2 separate regions of the Homo sapiens genome follow, and region 1 is linked to region 2. Evidence: promoter capture Hi-C in 16 types of primary human blood cells and fetal thymus (Javierre and others, 2016). All regions are on one chromosome and are shown on one strand. The core of a region is centred on a gene start or on the middle of the fragment in contact, and the rest is flanking DNA. Distances in the headings are between cores, read along the strand shown. Region 1 overlaps PCDHA1 (protocadherin alpha 1). Region 2 holds the start of PCDHB12 (protocadherin beta 12).

Region 1 (6,703 bases), core at 838-3,337, 250 kb after region 2:
TCTTCTCTCTGCATCCTCCCCAAACATCCCTACAATAATTCTGTCTCAGTTTGCTGTGGTAATTTGATCTCGGAGGCCTTAATCTCTCAAGTGCACAAATTGTGGACCTGGCCTGTGTCCTCACCCATTACTTGTTTCTGAAAATAAATGGCTTATAAGTGGAATCAAGTTGTAAGTTGTCATGAAAAGTGATCTTTCCTCCCCTTATCTCCTCCCAGCCCTCCAAGTCGCTGCCATCTCTGCACGCAGCTCAGAGACCTGGCCACTGGGTATTGACCAGGCATAGACCTGTGACTGTGAAAAAATCATAGGCACTTAAGGAAGAGATTACAGTGGCAGAGGCTTGGTAATTTTTTAATGGAAGCCCCCAAATGTCATGTCTTGGGAGAAAAACCAGGACTCTCCTTTCAGCACTCTTGTCATCTTCCAGCAAGGACACCTGCCAGGTTGTCCATTATGCTGTTTTAGGCCTTGTAGGTATTTAGCTCCAGCTAGAATTTACTGCCTTAATTATTAAGGAGTCAAATATAAAGCCAACACAATCAGCCTCATTTTGAAAGACATTGTACTAAAGAGATGGTATACTCTATTTGGCACTATAATGATTTCGTTCCTCACACCATTATACTGAGGCTCCTGCCAACCTTACTAGTTGTTAGAATGTGATTGCTCAGACTGTTGTTAATTACCCTTTCTACAAATATTAACACTAATGCCTTGACCACACCATTATGCATTCCTTTCCTTGGACCTTCAAGAGCTCTCTATTAAAAAGTAGAACACAGTAATTAGGAATATAGACTTTGGAGTCAGTCACACTCCTGCCAGTGACTAACTGTTTGGCTATGGACATGTTACTTAGCCTAAGCTTCACTTTACTCATTTTAATTAAGGAAAACAATAGTAAGCAAAACTCATACGGTTATTATTATGATTACATGAGAAAATGTATGTAAAGCAATTTGCACAGTGACTAGTTAAGTACATTATTGTTGTTGTTGCTGTCGTCATGAAATACAACAATTTATTATCATCAGATAAAACCTTAGTTGGCAGTCTATATGTAGCATGGCCCTTTAGATATCAAACACGGATAAACACATTTAACTATGCCATATAGGAAATCAACCATGATAGGGAAGATGCGTATGCAACAAAGTTAAGCTTTCCCAATTACGTCTAGAACTATATCCTACATTTTGAGAACAAAACCAGAAAACAGCCCCTTTTTATATCATGAAGTAAATGGGACTTCTGTTATGAGAACCCCTTCAAGAGATTTGTTTCCTCACAAGAGATTTACCTTTTTAGAAAACACAGAAATACTTTAGCAACAGAGTATGAAGTTAGTTCCTAAACATGCTGTAATCTACAGCATCCAGTAGGGAGCTTGGCACAGAGGTGCTCAATTAATGTTCTTTGAAAAGAACTAAATTTACAAATTTATCTGTGTAATTCTAATACAAACAGCTTCTTATTTTCTCTCCTCCTTATAAAATCTTACATACATTTCAAAGTCCAGATGAAAACCTACCTAATCCATCAAACAGTGTCTACTCTAAACACGAGGTTTTTTTTTTCATTTTCACAGTCTACAGCATATCTGTAAGATGGCATGTGTCATTTTTAAATTCATCCAAATAATTTAATATTATCTCTTTAATTATAAGCAACCTGAAAGCAGGAGCCATGTCTTATATTTCTGTCTCCTTCACAATGTAGAAACCCTTATAGACTCTCAATAAATGTTAATTGCTTCATTTTCTTCAGATCTTATTTTTAGTAAACTCAAGCTGCTACAGAAAAATTTCCTATATAGGGATAGAGCATATCTTATGGAGAGGAGGTTGAGAAGTATCTGTCAAATAGGGAAGGAGCTAGTTTTCATTTTTTAATTCATGTATTTATGTTGCTCTACAAACCGAGCACAAGTTATATAATAAAAAAGAGACAAATGGTCATCTCTGATGTTTAGAGTTGTCCAAAGTAGTTTTTAAAAATTCCATCTTGTTAAAAACGAATAGGATTCCTGATCTTCATGCATCCCCAGAAGGAAAATACTTTCCAATATGATTATAGCATTATTTACAGATAAAACATCCAGTGGATGGGAAGATGAAAAAGTTTTCACATAACTTGATGGCTAAATTTTTTCACATCTCCCTTCCTCCAGAAGAAATATATCAGTCAAATATTTGGCATTAACAATTGGCTTTTAGGGGGAGATCCTCTACATTTTTAGTTCTAAAAAACTAATATATTATTGATAGTTGGCTGAGGTGTCTGAAAATTGCTTAGAATAAACAAAGAGATTCAAGCCATAAGAGATTCAAGCCATCTTTGGATAAGTAACAATAAAAAGGGAGAGACAGGTTTGGGGCAGATTGCGTAATATTAACAGATAAAATCAAACTAGCCAGTATTGGGGGGAGTTTTACTTCTTTATCAGTATTCTCAATTGAGATGGCCTAACAAGAATCATAGAATATTAAAGGTTGAGGTTTTTTAAATTATAAAATTATTTTTCATTGAAGAAAATGGTTAAGTGAAACTTGAACCTCAAGATCAATAAGGAGATAGGAAGCATAAAAGTGATATAAGTGGCCGGGTGTGGTGGCTCACGCCTGTAATCCCAGCACTTTGGGAGGCCGAGGCCAAGGTTAGGAGATCGAGACCATCCTGGCTAACATGGTGAAACCCCGTCTCTACTAAAAAATACAAAAAAATTAGCCAGGCATGGTGGTGGGTGCCTGTAGTCCCAGCTACTCGGGAAGCTGAGGCAGGACAATGGCGTGAACCCAGGAGGCGGAGGTTGCAGTGAGCCGAGATCATGCCACTGCACTCCAGCCTGGGCAACAGAGCGAGACTCCATCTCAAAAAAAAAAAAAACTGATGTAAGTAAGTCAATTATCTGTGGCCAGATAAATGATCTTCCAAGGCACTGAAATAACTTACAGATGTGACTAGAGAACCCAATTTCCTATCTTTTAAAAAGTGCCATTAAGCTTGATATAAATTCCTTCAAAACTGTAATATTACTAAAGTGATTGTTTATGAGCACTTAGAAATGAAGGCATTCATACTAAGGACTACTCCGGCTTAATTAAAAACTGGTAACTTCAAACTAACCACATAGACTTAAGATTGTTTTTCATATGGGCACTTTAGTTTCATTTACTAGAATCATTGCCAAAATAAATGCTTATCAAAACAAAATTTAAAAAAAGAAATGCTGCAGGAACAGTCTATCTAGAATTTGTGGAGACATTAAACAAAGTCTCCCAATATACTCACGTGGACAAGACAAAAAAAGAAAGGCAGCTGCAAGACAGTGTAGTTAGGTGATTTTGTAATTGTTTAAATAACATGCCAAAAAGTGTTTACTAATGGAATAGTTCAAACTAGAAGGAGAATTCTAATGGGGACTACAGGGATCCACTCTTGGTCTCTCAAGAAACAGAGCCTGGTAAATCATGTTCTTTAACCTCAAGAAACAGAGCCATGGTAAAAAGAAGCTTCCTGGAGCTTCGGATAAATTCCATCACCTTTTTGGGACCCAGTTTCTTCATCAATACCAACCTCACTAGGGTCCTGTGAGGAGTACATAAGGTTAGATATGTACTGAAATAATATGCCAACTCTTAAGTGCCAAGACATTAAGATGCAAGGGGGTTGGGTGACCAAAAAGTCAACAATTACTTGATACTCCAGATATCCCATTCAACATTTTGTTAATGACTCAAAACAAGGAGGTAGCAAGTGTCCATGCAGTCCAGCAGCAAATTGAGCATTTTTGGAACAAGAATTGCAACTGCCTAGGTTAAGCTATGTTTCTAATTCACTAAACTTAGTACCAATTTTCTATCTGAAACTCAAGATATGCCCCAAATTCATTAGTGTGTATTTCAGCTAATTTCTGGCTTATAGTTGCCATTAAACCTGTTCCAAGTTTCCATTCATCACTTGGGACCTCTTATTTTAATAGAAACCTTGTTTGGCCCTATTTCTCCTCTGTAACTCTTGGGATTTTAGCCATGGACTAAAATCATGGACTAAAATAAGATGAGTATTTGGCACTAAAGAACACCCTCATTCCCAAGTAGGTTTTAGCCAAAGCATTCATTGATTTGGATAGGGGTTTTAAAAATATATTTCAAAAACACACTAGATATTGTTGAAGTACCTTGAATTTGAACTGTTTTCCAACTGTTTTCCTAAGCTCAGTCTATATGAAGGCCACAGTTTCTCTTTCCTATACCCATTATGTTTGCTGCTTGGAACAAACAAACCTACACCTCTGTGTAAGAAGGATTACTTCTCAAAATTATCCATACATATATCTAGAGTATCAAGTAATTGTTGACTTTTTGGGCACCCCCCCTTGCATCCTAATGTCTTGGCACTTAAGAGTTGGCATATTATTTCAGTACATATCTCACCTCATGTACTTCTCACAGGACCCTAATGAGGTTGGTATTGATGAAGAAACTGGGTCCCAAAAAGGTGACGGAATTTATCAGAAGCTCCAGGAAGCTTCTTTTTACCATGGCTCTGTTTCTTGAGATCCTGAAATAACATCTGACCACTACACATGCAACCCCTAACTTAAGAATTGTATTATCAGTCTCAAGCTATTAATATCTAAGTATTTCATAAGGAATACTATTGTTCCCACAACTACAAGTTTCTTTCTCTTTTAGAAACTTCAATTGAATCTTCTGTACATGTTTTTAATAATAAACAGCCGGACTTAACAAAATCATGATGCAAAATAGATTTGTATTTCATATCCCAACTTCTTCTTTCAGTAACATCTACCTCCTACCTATGATATTCTGCCTAAGTAATGGGGCTTTACAAATGGCTTTGATTTTTCTGATATAAATCCCACTCGTGTATTCCTTGACAGATTTTGCTACATAATTCCTTTAGCAGTTACAGGCATAATACATTATCATGTGGGTAAAATATAAATCCTCTAAATTAGCCATGTTAATATACACTGTTCTTACTGAATATTAAAATATACTTTAAGGCATTTTGATGAGATAATGTTATCTAAAAATTTTCCCTTTCAAAGCTCATTTTATTGAAATTATTTAGAAATGATTTACAAATTCTTCAATTTTGCTTCTGTGTTTTTTCTCTCTTTTTTTCTATCACAAGCAAGAAAAGCATGTTATACTTGGCTGATAGAATTGAAACAAAAAATCTAGTACTGATTCTATTTATACAGCATCTCTGAATTAATGGTCTTAAAGATCTTAAAATTTTTTAGTTTGATCCATATATAACAATATGCCTTGATTGATGCCAACTTCAGCTTTTCAGCACAAAATAGAAAAAAATACACAAATTCTCAGATCAATCAACACTTTATCTTAATTTGTGACTTTTTTTTTTGAGACAGGGTCTCACTCAGTTGTCCCGCTGGAGTGCAGTAGCATAATCAAAACTTATTGCAGCTTCAACCACCGGGCTCAGTGATGCTCCCACCTCAGGCTCCTGGGTAGCTGGGACTACAGTCATGCACTATCATGCCCAGATAATTTTTGTATTTTTTGTAAGGACAGCATTTCACCATGTTGCCCAGACTGGTCCTGAACTCCTGGGGTCAAGCAATCTGCCCACTTTGGCCTCCCAAAGTGGGCTCACCTCGCCCACCTTCGGACCCCTGCTGAATGTCCGAAACCAAGGATAATACTGAATTCTATATATACTGCATTTTTTCCTATACATACATACCCATGATAAAGCTTAATGTATAAATTAGGTACAGTAAAAGATTAGCAACAATAACTAATAATAAAATAGAACAATTATAATAATATAATATTATTACAAGTATGAGCCACCACACCCAGGCAGACTTTTCTGTATCTATTATATAGCTACTGGTCAATTCTTTTATAAACCCAGTAAACCAAAGACACTGGAATGATAACTTTAAGATATAAAAATTAAAACAGAATGGTGTGATAATTTACTAGAAATAGAAAGTTGATTTCAAACAGAAATGGGTAAAAATCTCCTTTCTCTCTTTCCCATTCAGTGTTACATTTATTATAACAGAGTTGTCACTCTAGGATATTCAATATCCTTTATAATTAAAATTTCATCATAGCTTTCTGTGATTGGTTTTCTGCAGTACTCTCAAGCTGGACTAGTATTCCTTTGATCCAATTATCATAAGCTCATTTAAAATCTCAACTGTGTATGAAACATTTATTGGTTCATAAATCAATGTACACATAGTATATATTGGACAGCCATGCCTCCTAGGATATGTGGACTTAGTGCTCTTTAAGCCAGCAGAAGTTGAAGAATAAAAGGTATTTTTAAATTATAAAAAGTGCTTCTTTCCAAGCATCAGTGATAATGTTTGATGACCTGTTAAGAAAATAGCAACATTCCTGATAAAGTCAGACTGTGAACTTCCTGTGATTTATTTATTTTTTGAGCTCTAATTTATTTTAATTAAGTTCAATAATATTTAAAATATATACTTCTTGTACCAAATTAAATTTGTTCAGAATTGTTAAAAACAATGAAAGTCCTTTAAAATCTAATTCCCTTGTATACTAGACCAGTAACAGAAAATTTATATCACTCCAGGCTTTTGACTATGCTATATAAATATACACACTGATACATTTTACAAAATGGAACCACACTCTACACACTATTGTACAACTTTACTTTT
Region 2 (6,777 bases), core at 1,337-3,836:
CATTCTTTATCAGAAACCCAAATTATTCTGAAATGGGGGATTTTCTTCGACTTCACTACCTGTGCTCTGGGGTAGGAAGTTGGGGATAATTGGTTTCAGAAATTTGAACTTATTTGACCTGGAGCCTCCAGTCACACACACCTCATAGTGGTAGCTCTGGGACAGGGTCCCGGTGCCACTCACGTCCACCAGATGTCCTGGAAAGGGGCCCTCAGGCACCGAGCAGCGACCGACCGGGGCCGCCCTGCTCCTCCTGCACAGCCGCACCGCCACGAACAGGAGCACCGAGAAGAGGAAGAGCGACGACACTGAGGCCAACGCCACCACCAGGTAGACAGTGAGCGAGTCGGCCTGGGCCTGGGCCGGGGCCGCCTCCGGGAGAGGCAGGTAGGGCTGGGAGAAGCCGTCCACCAGGAGCACGTGCAGCGTGGCGGTGGCCGAGCGCGGAGGCTCGCCATTGTCCTTGACCAGCACCACCAGCCTGTGCTTGGCCGCGTCGCGCTCGCTCAGCAGCCTGGCGGTGCGCACCTCGCCATTGTGCGCCCACACGCCGAATAGCCCGGGCTCCGTGGCCTTGAGCAGCTGGTACGACAGCCAGGCGTTCTGGCCCGAGTCACCGTCCACCGCCACCACCTTGGTCACCAGGTAGCCCGGCTCGGCCGCCCAGGGCACCAGCTCGGTGCAGGGCGCGGAGCCGTTCTGCAGCGGGTACAGCACGAAGGGCGAGTTGTCGTTGGCGTCCAGCACCAGCACGCGCACCAGCGCCTCGCTGCTCAAAGCCGGGGAGCCGTGGTCTGTGGCGCCCACGCGGAACTGGAACCCCTGCAGGGCCTCGTAGTCCAGCGACCTGAGGGCAAACAGGTGGCCGTTGTCCGCGTTGATGGAGACCAGGGAGGCGAGGGGCAGGTGCGGGTCCTGGGACGGCAGCAGCGAGTAGTTGACCTGGGCGTTGGTGCCCGAGTCTCTGTCTGTGGCGCTGATGCTGCCGATGTGCAGGGCGGGGCTGTTGTTCTCGCGGACGAACAGGGCGTAGGAAGTTTGGGTGAAGGCGGGGGCGTTGTCATTGACGTCGGAGACCAGCACGGTTATGTTGTGCTCGGTTTTTAGCCTGGGGGTCCCCAAGTCGGTGACGGTGATGGTGATGTTGTACTCGGCTCTGCTCTCTCTGTCCAGCGGTCTCTCTGTTTCCAAAGTGTAGTAATTATTTACCGAAGATTTTAGCACGAATGGGATGTCCTCCGGGATAGAACAAACCATCTTTCCGTTGTCCCCAGAGTCTCTGTCTCGTATCCTGAAAACCATAACCACAGTCTCTGGAGTGTTTTCTGGGATTGGACTGGTAATTGATGACACAGTGATTTCAGGAGCGTTGTCGTTTACATCCATCACCTGAATTCTGACTGTAGATTTTCCAAAAAGTCCTCCCCCATCTGTGGCTTGAATGATTATTGAGTATGACTCAATTGCTTCAAAATCCAAAGGTGCTGTTAAAGTAATGTCACCAGACTTTTGATTAATTTCAAATGTCTTGCGAATATCTTCTGAGGCATGGGAAAAGGTATAGGATAGTTCACTGTTTGTTCCAGAGTCTAAATCCCAGGCTGAGACGGTCACAACCAGGGAGCCAAGGATGCTATTCTCCAGAATCTTCACCTCATAAAAAGCCTGCTCAAACTCAGGGGAGTTGTCATTAATATCTACAACCACCACCCTGACCAAGGCAGTTCCAGACCTGGGAGGGGACCCGCCATCCAGAGCAGTGAGGATGAAACTGAGCTCCGGGCGCTCTTCATAATCCAGCGCCTTGTCCAGAACTAACTCAGGGTATTTCCTATTGTCTGGATTGACTCTTATTTTAACGTGGAAATGAGAGTTCGGATTTATTGTGTAGCTTTTTACAGCATTGATTCCTACATCTAAATCCTTTGCACTTTCAAGCAAGAACACAGCACCAACAGGACTGTTCTCTGGGATTTCTAAGAGCATTTCTTTTTCCAAGAAGACGGGAGAGTGATCATTTATATCCCTGACCTGGAGCTCAATTTGTAAAAACTGCGTGGGGTTTTTCATTAACACTTGGAAATACAGCACACAAGGCTCATTGGAGCCACAGAGCTCCTCCCTGTCTAGCATTTCTCTCAGGAGCAAATCCCCAGTGTTTGTGTCCAGCTGCAAACACTCTTTGTTATCATTAGAAACCACCCGAGCCCCCCGCGAAGACAGCTCACTCACCTCGAGTCCCAGGGTCTTTGCCAAATTTCCTACAAAGCTCCCGCTCTGCAATTCCTCCATCACCAAAAAGTTCCCAGTTTCAGAGCCCGCCTGAGACATTCCCAGCAAAACAAAGAAAAGCAGGACTTGCCTTATCTGCAGAGTGCCTGCCCCTCCGTTTTCCATAGCTTCTTTTCCAAAACCCCAAAATCTTCTTGCAGAATTGCCTCAGCGCCTCTTCGCAGTTGTGGGAAACGTGCCTCTGATCTGTCTACCAAATCCTCGGAAGCCTGAAGATTTTAACCTTGTTGAATGGCTTCTAGGTTCTCCCTTAAAGGATTGTTCTTTCTGTCTTCCCAGTTCTCCGCGTGTACTGGATAACAGGGTCTACAACATCCTCCAGGGTAATTTTTTTCTTGATATTATCCTGCAGCGCCACCACGCGTCTCCACAGATTTTCACAGTTTGATGAACACTACCTAAATTTTATTTACATAAATGTCCTCCAGAAGCAAATAAATATTGCGTTTAAATAATTCCTTCTGTTGAAGTAATTAAAAATATATTTTATCTTCCATAATAATCGTTTTATATTCTTTATAGTTTGTGATGATGATTTTGTTTTAAAGCATTTATTCAGTGTCTTTCCCCACTCTTCTCACAACCAAATGTGTTCAGTTGTGGTAAACACAGATACAAGATGTGATCCCTGGCTCCCAGGAATTCATAGTGTTTCTGAGACAATTGTAAGCCTGAAACAAGCAGGGTATAAGTGATTGTTAAGCTGAATGAAATTCTATTACTACTTGGCTTTCCTTACGTGATAAGGTAAAGGAAAGGTCATCTCAGAAATCCTTTCTGAAGTTATGAAACTGGATTAACCATGAGATGAGGCATATATAGGTCAACACAACAGCATAAAAAGGCACTTCTGTAGATTTCCTTAATAGCAATGAATTGTGAACAGGCAGAAAATGAAGCAAGAGATTGGGGTGGAACATGTTATGTAAACCCATCATTTAGTTCCAGTTTTTCATAATTTACAAAAAAATTCATAAGTACACAAGCATGAGCAAGTTAGTTTAATTTAAAGCAGACTCTTATTCCTAAAGCTGACTTGCCTTAGGTTCCCAAAATTTATTGTAGCCACAACTGTAGCTATCTGTTTTCTCTTTCAGCCCAGGAAGAGAAAGTAAGAGTCTATCCCTAAACATAGAACAAAAACCTAACTTTCACTCTAATTAGACCAAGTAAGATCATGTGTCTGCCACTGAAGCAATCATTGTTTCAAGAGGTATAGAATTATAGTTGGAGATTTTAGTCCTAGAATCTAAAGACCTGTCTCTGGCCATTACTGTGTTTTAATCCTGTCTGGGACCACCTCTTAAGCTTGGGAAGGTTTCAGTCCTAGCCAAAGTACCTCATTGGTACAAAATGAGGGAGACTGTTTGCAACAGATGCTAAGGGCTCATCAGTGATATTCACTATAGAAAGTCTTAAAGTGCACTAAGAATGGATGGGAGAAGAATCCAACAAGTCTGCATTTTAAAATGTTAAATTCAATTAATATTCTTAAAAATGTAAGCTGGATACATGGTTGAAATAGTAATTGGTACAGAAGGGTAAAACTTGAAAAGTAGATGAATTGAGCACACACAATTAACCTCTCTTTTTAAAAAAAAATATGCACTAAAATGGCAGAAAAGTAATTAAAATGGTAGGAACTAACAAAGATTAAGAATACACAAGTGAACACATACATTTTTCTATGACAGAAAGCAGGTGGAAGAGCAATTAACTTAGCAGTTCCAAAAAGTGCCCCTAAAGTAAAGTTCCTGCATTGAAGATACTCACAAGAAACATAATCTCTTTTAAGCGCAAGATCTGGAGGAACCAGATGTTTAAGAAGACTGAAGTCAGTTAAGGATGGAAAAAAGTTATTAGTTGGAAGTATGTGTAGAGGATAATTGAATTCTCTGTTCTTCTCATCACCCTACATAGATGGAAACATAACTCACAGCCAGAAAATAGAAAGTTTATTCTCTGGAGAAATTTAATGGGACTTTCTCTAGTCTTGGGGATCTAGGCACAGCTGAGCACAAGTGTGAGGTGTCAAACTGAAAATAGGGAGAGTAAGCAAACCTTTGCATTTTGCATGGTGAGACTTCTAATCCCTTTTCATGCAATACTCTTAGACTGTAGGACACAAAGTGTATGCCTGACCCCTAGTCTATCCCCATAGTGTATATTGTAGAATTCTAACCTGGAGAATATGAAAGCCCAAATGAAGACACATATTAATATTTGGCATCTCATAAGGTAATAGACTTATCCTAGCATGGTTATATTAGAATGAAGCCCTGCCATCAACAGGTACTGTTCGCTCACAGAGTTGATTGTCAGCATTTTGATATATCATCCTTCTAAAATACGAGAAGATAGCCAAGGCATTTGAGGAAATGCCTGCAACATAACATAGAAAGACCAAAACTACCACCATCGCTACCATCAAGAAAAAAAAAAGGAACAATAATATAGAAAGCAGAAGAAAGCCTTTGAAAATGTCTGGTTAATATTCCCAGAGAAAGAAAATCTAATAAAAGCTAATACTTATTTAGTATTTACTCTATGCTACTCATTGTTCTAAGTGCCTCATAATGCATTTATCCATTTAATCTAAATAGTAGCTGTATGAAGTATGTATTTATCCACTTAATCTAAATAGTAACTATATGAAGTACATATTCCTATTGTAAGATGAAGACTAGATTAGGACTTCAGTGCTTTTTACTAGCTATATTACCTTGGACAAGTTCTTAACTCCCCTTAGACTCACTTTCACTTTTAAAATGGATATATAATAATGATACTGCCTAATGCATTTTTAAAGAAAAGATTAATTATAAATGAGAGAAAATATTACATTTATAAATCTATGACAGGATGCCATGAAAAACATTCAGAGAACCAAAAACAACTCTTAAAAGTAAATATTTTTCAGTCATAAAGAAAAACTTATACATAAAACATTGAGTGATTAAATAAATTGTCCAAAAAATGGAATGAGAGGCAAAGAGAAAATAAGAAAGGAAAAATGGCTTATAGTCTTATAGAGTCAATCTAGGAGGTCTAATATTTAACTGAGATTTTCATTGAAGTGAGAATCCAGAAAACTCAGAGGAGAAATTATGAGTAAAACATACCAAGGAAATTCCTTTTAACAAATTGTTTTTGTGTAGAGATAGGTTCCCACTATGTTGCCCAGGGTGGTCTCAAACTCGGGGCCTCAAATAATCCTGCCTCAGCTTCCCAAAGTACTGGGATTGCAGGTGTGAGTCACCATGCCCAACCAAAATTTCTCAGAAATAAAATTGATAGTCTGAACATTAGCCAAGGGGTCTAGCACATGCCTGTAGTCCCAGCAACTTGGAAGGCTGAGGCAGAAGTAGCTCTCGAGTTAGAGCTTGCAGGGTGCTGTGATTGTGCCTGTGAATAGCCACTGCACTCCAGCCTGGGTAACACAGTGAGACATCATCTTAAAAAAAAAAGAAAAGTTAAACATGAACAGGGCATAGCGATATAACCAGATTAATCAATAAAGAGCCAGTACTAAGGTATTTTCAGAAGACCAGGGGAATTTTTTTCAATGCTCACAGAAAGAAAGAAAAAAAGGGGGGGAATCACATAAAAAGACATAGGAATCAGAATGGAATCAGTCTTCTGAACAGCAATTCTATATGCAGTCAATAAAAGGAGCAGTGCTTTTGAAATCTGAGGGAAAATTATTTTCAACCTAGAATGTTATGCCCAAACTATCAATCAAATAAAAAAAAAGAAAATAACAAAGCAAGCTCTCAAAAAGTTTTATTTCCTCTGTATCCATTTTTATGAAGGTACTGAGAGATGTGCATCAACAAAATAAGTGAGTAAACTAAGAAAGAAGAATGTACTGGATCTTATAAAAAAGGACCAACAAAGAAAAATATTTTTTAAAGTCCTAGGGTGACAGCCTATAGAGCAACCAGTATGAATGAAGTAGAGATCTGGGTGCAAGATCACCAAGAAATAAACATAATTGACAGGTATCTGATATATTTGAATATTTTGAGAAGAAAGAGATTCAAATTAGAGAATGTAAAGAAACTAATATTAGTAAATGGAAAATTATGTAAGTACAAAACAATTTTCAGTTCTAGGAAAAATGTTTCTCAAGAAAGGAAATTTAATCACACTACACTAATGTGTATTTTGAAGAAAGCTTAGCAATATGGACACTATTAGTTTAACTTAAAAAAAACTGTAGGCTGGGCACTGTGGCTCACGCCTGTAATCTCAACACTTTGGGAGGCTGAGGCAGGAGGATCAGCTGGGGTCAGGAGTTCAAGACAAGCCTGGCCAACATGGTGAAACCCCATCTCTACTAAAGCTACAAAACTAGCCAGGTGTGGTGGTGGGTGCCTGTAATCCCAGCTATTCAGGAGGCTGAGGCAGGAGAATCACTTGAACCTGGGAAGCAGAGGTTACAGTGAGCTGAGATCACACCACTGTACTCCAACCTGGGCGACA

What was found. Contacts are between HindIII fragments. The CHiCAGO score rates a contact against its expected background, and 5 or more counts as called.
Region 1: a fragment that was not itself captured here is called in contact with the fragment with the promoter of PCDHB12 in region 2 in 1 of 17 cell types (M2 macrophages); the score reaches 5.0 in M2 macrophages.

Annotation. Positions count from the first base shown.
Region 1 is chr5:140,958,074-140,964,776 of GRCh38, reverse strand. The region is part of intron 1 of PCDHA1 (protocadherin alpha 1); the gene reads right to left. All of the region lies in intron 1 of PCDHA2 (protocadherin alpha 2), which reads right to left. All of the region lies in intron 1 of PCDHA3 (protocadherin alpha 3), which reads right to left. All of the region lies in intron 1 of PCDHA4 (protocadherin alpha 4), which reads right to left. It also overlaps PCDHA5, PCDHA6, PCDHA7, PCDHA8, PCDHA9 and PCDHA10, and 5 more genes. Among named protein-coding and RNA genes, the nearest start is that of PCDHAC2, 5.1 kb to the left of the region's middle. The HindIII fragment of the contact is 1,841 bases long and covers 1,167-3,007 here.
Region 2 is chr5:141,204,528-141,211,304 of GRCh38, reverse strand. PCDHB12 (protocadherin beta 12) reads right to left here and starts at 2,586. Exons shown (of 1, transcript NM_018932.4): 1 at 1-2,586. The coding sequence starts at 2,397. The coding sequence ends at 10. It also overlaps PCDHB@. RefSeq lists an enhancer at 565-1,154. The HindIII fragment of the contact is 7,272 bases long and covers 1-3,602 here.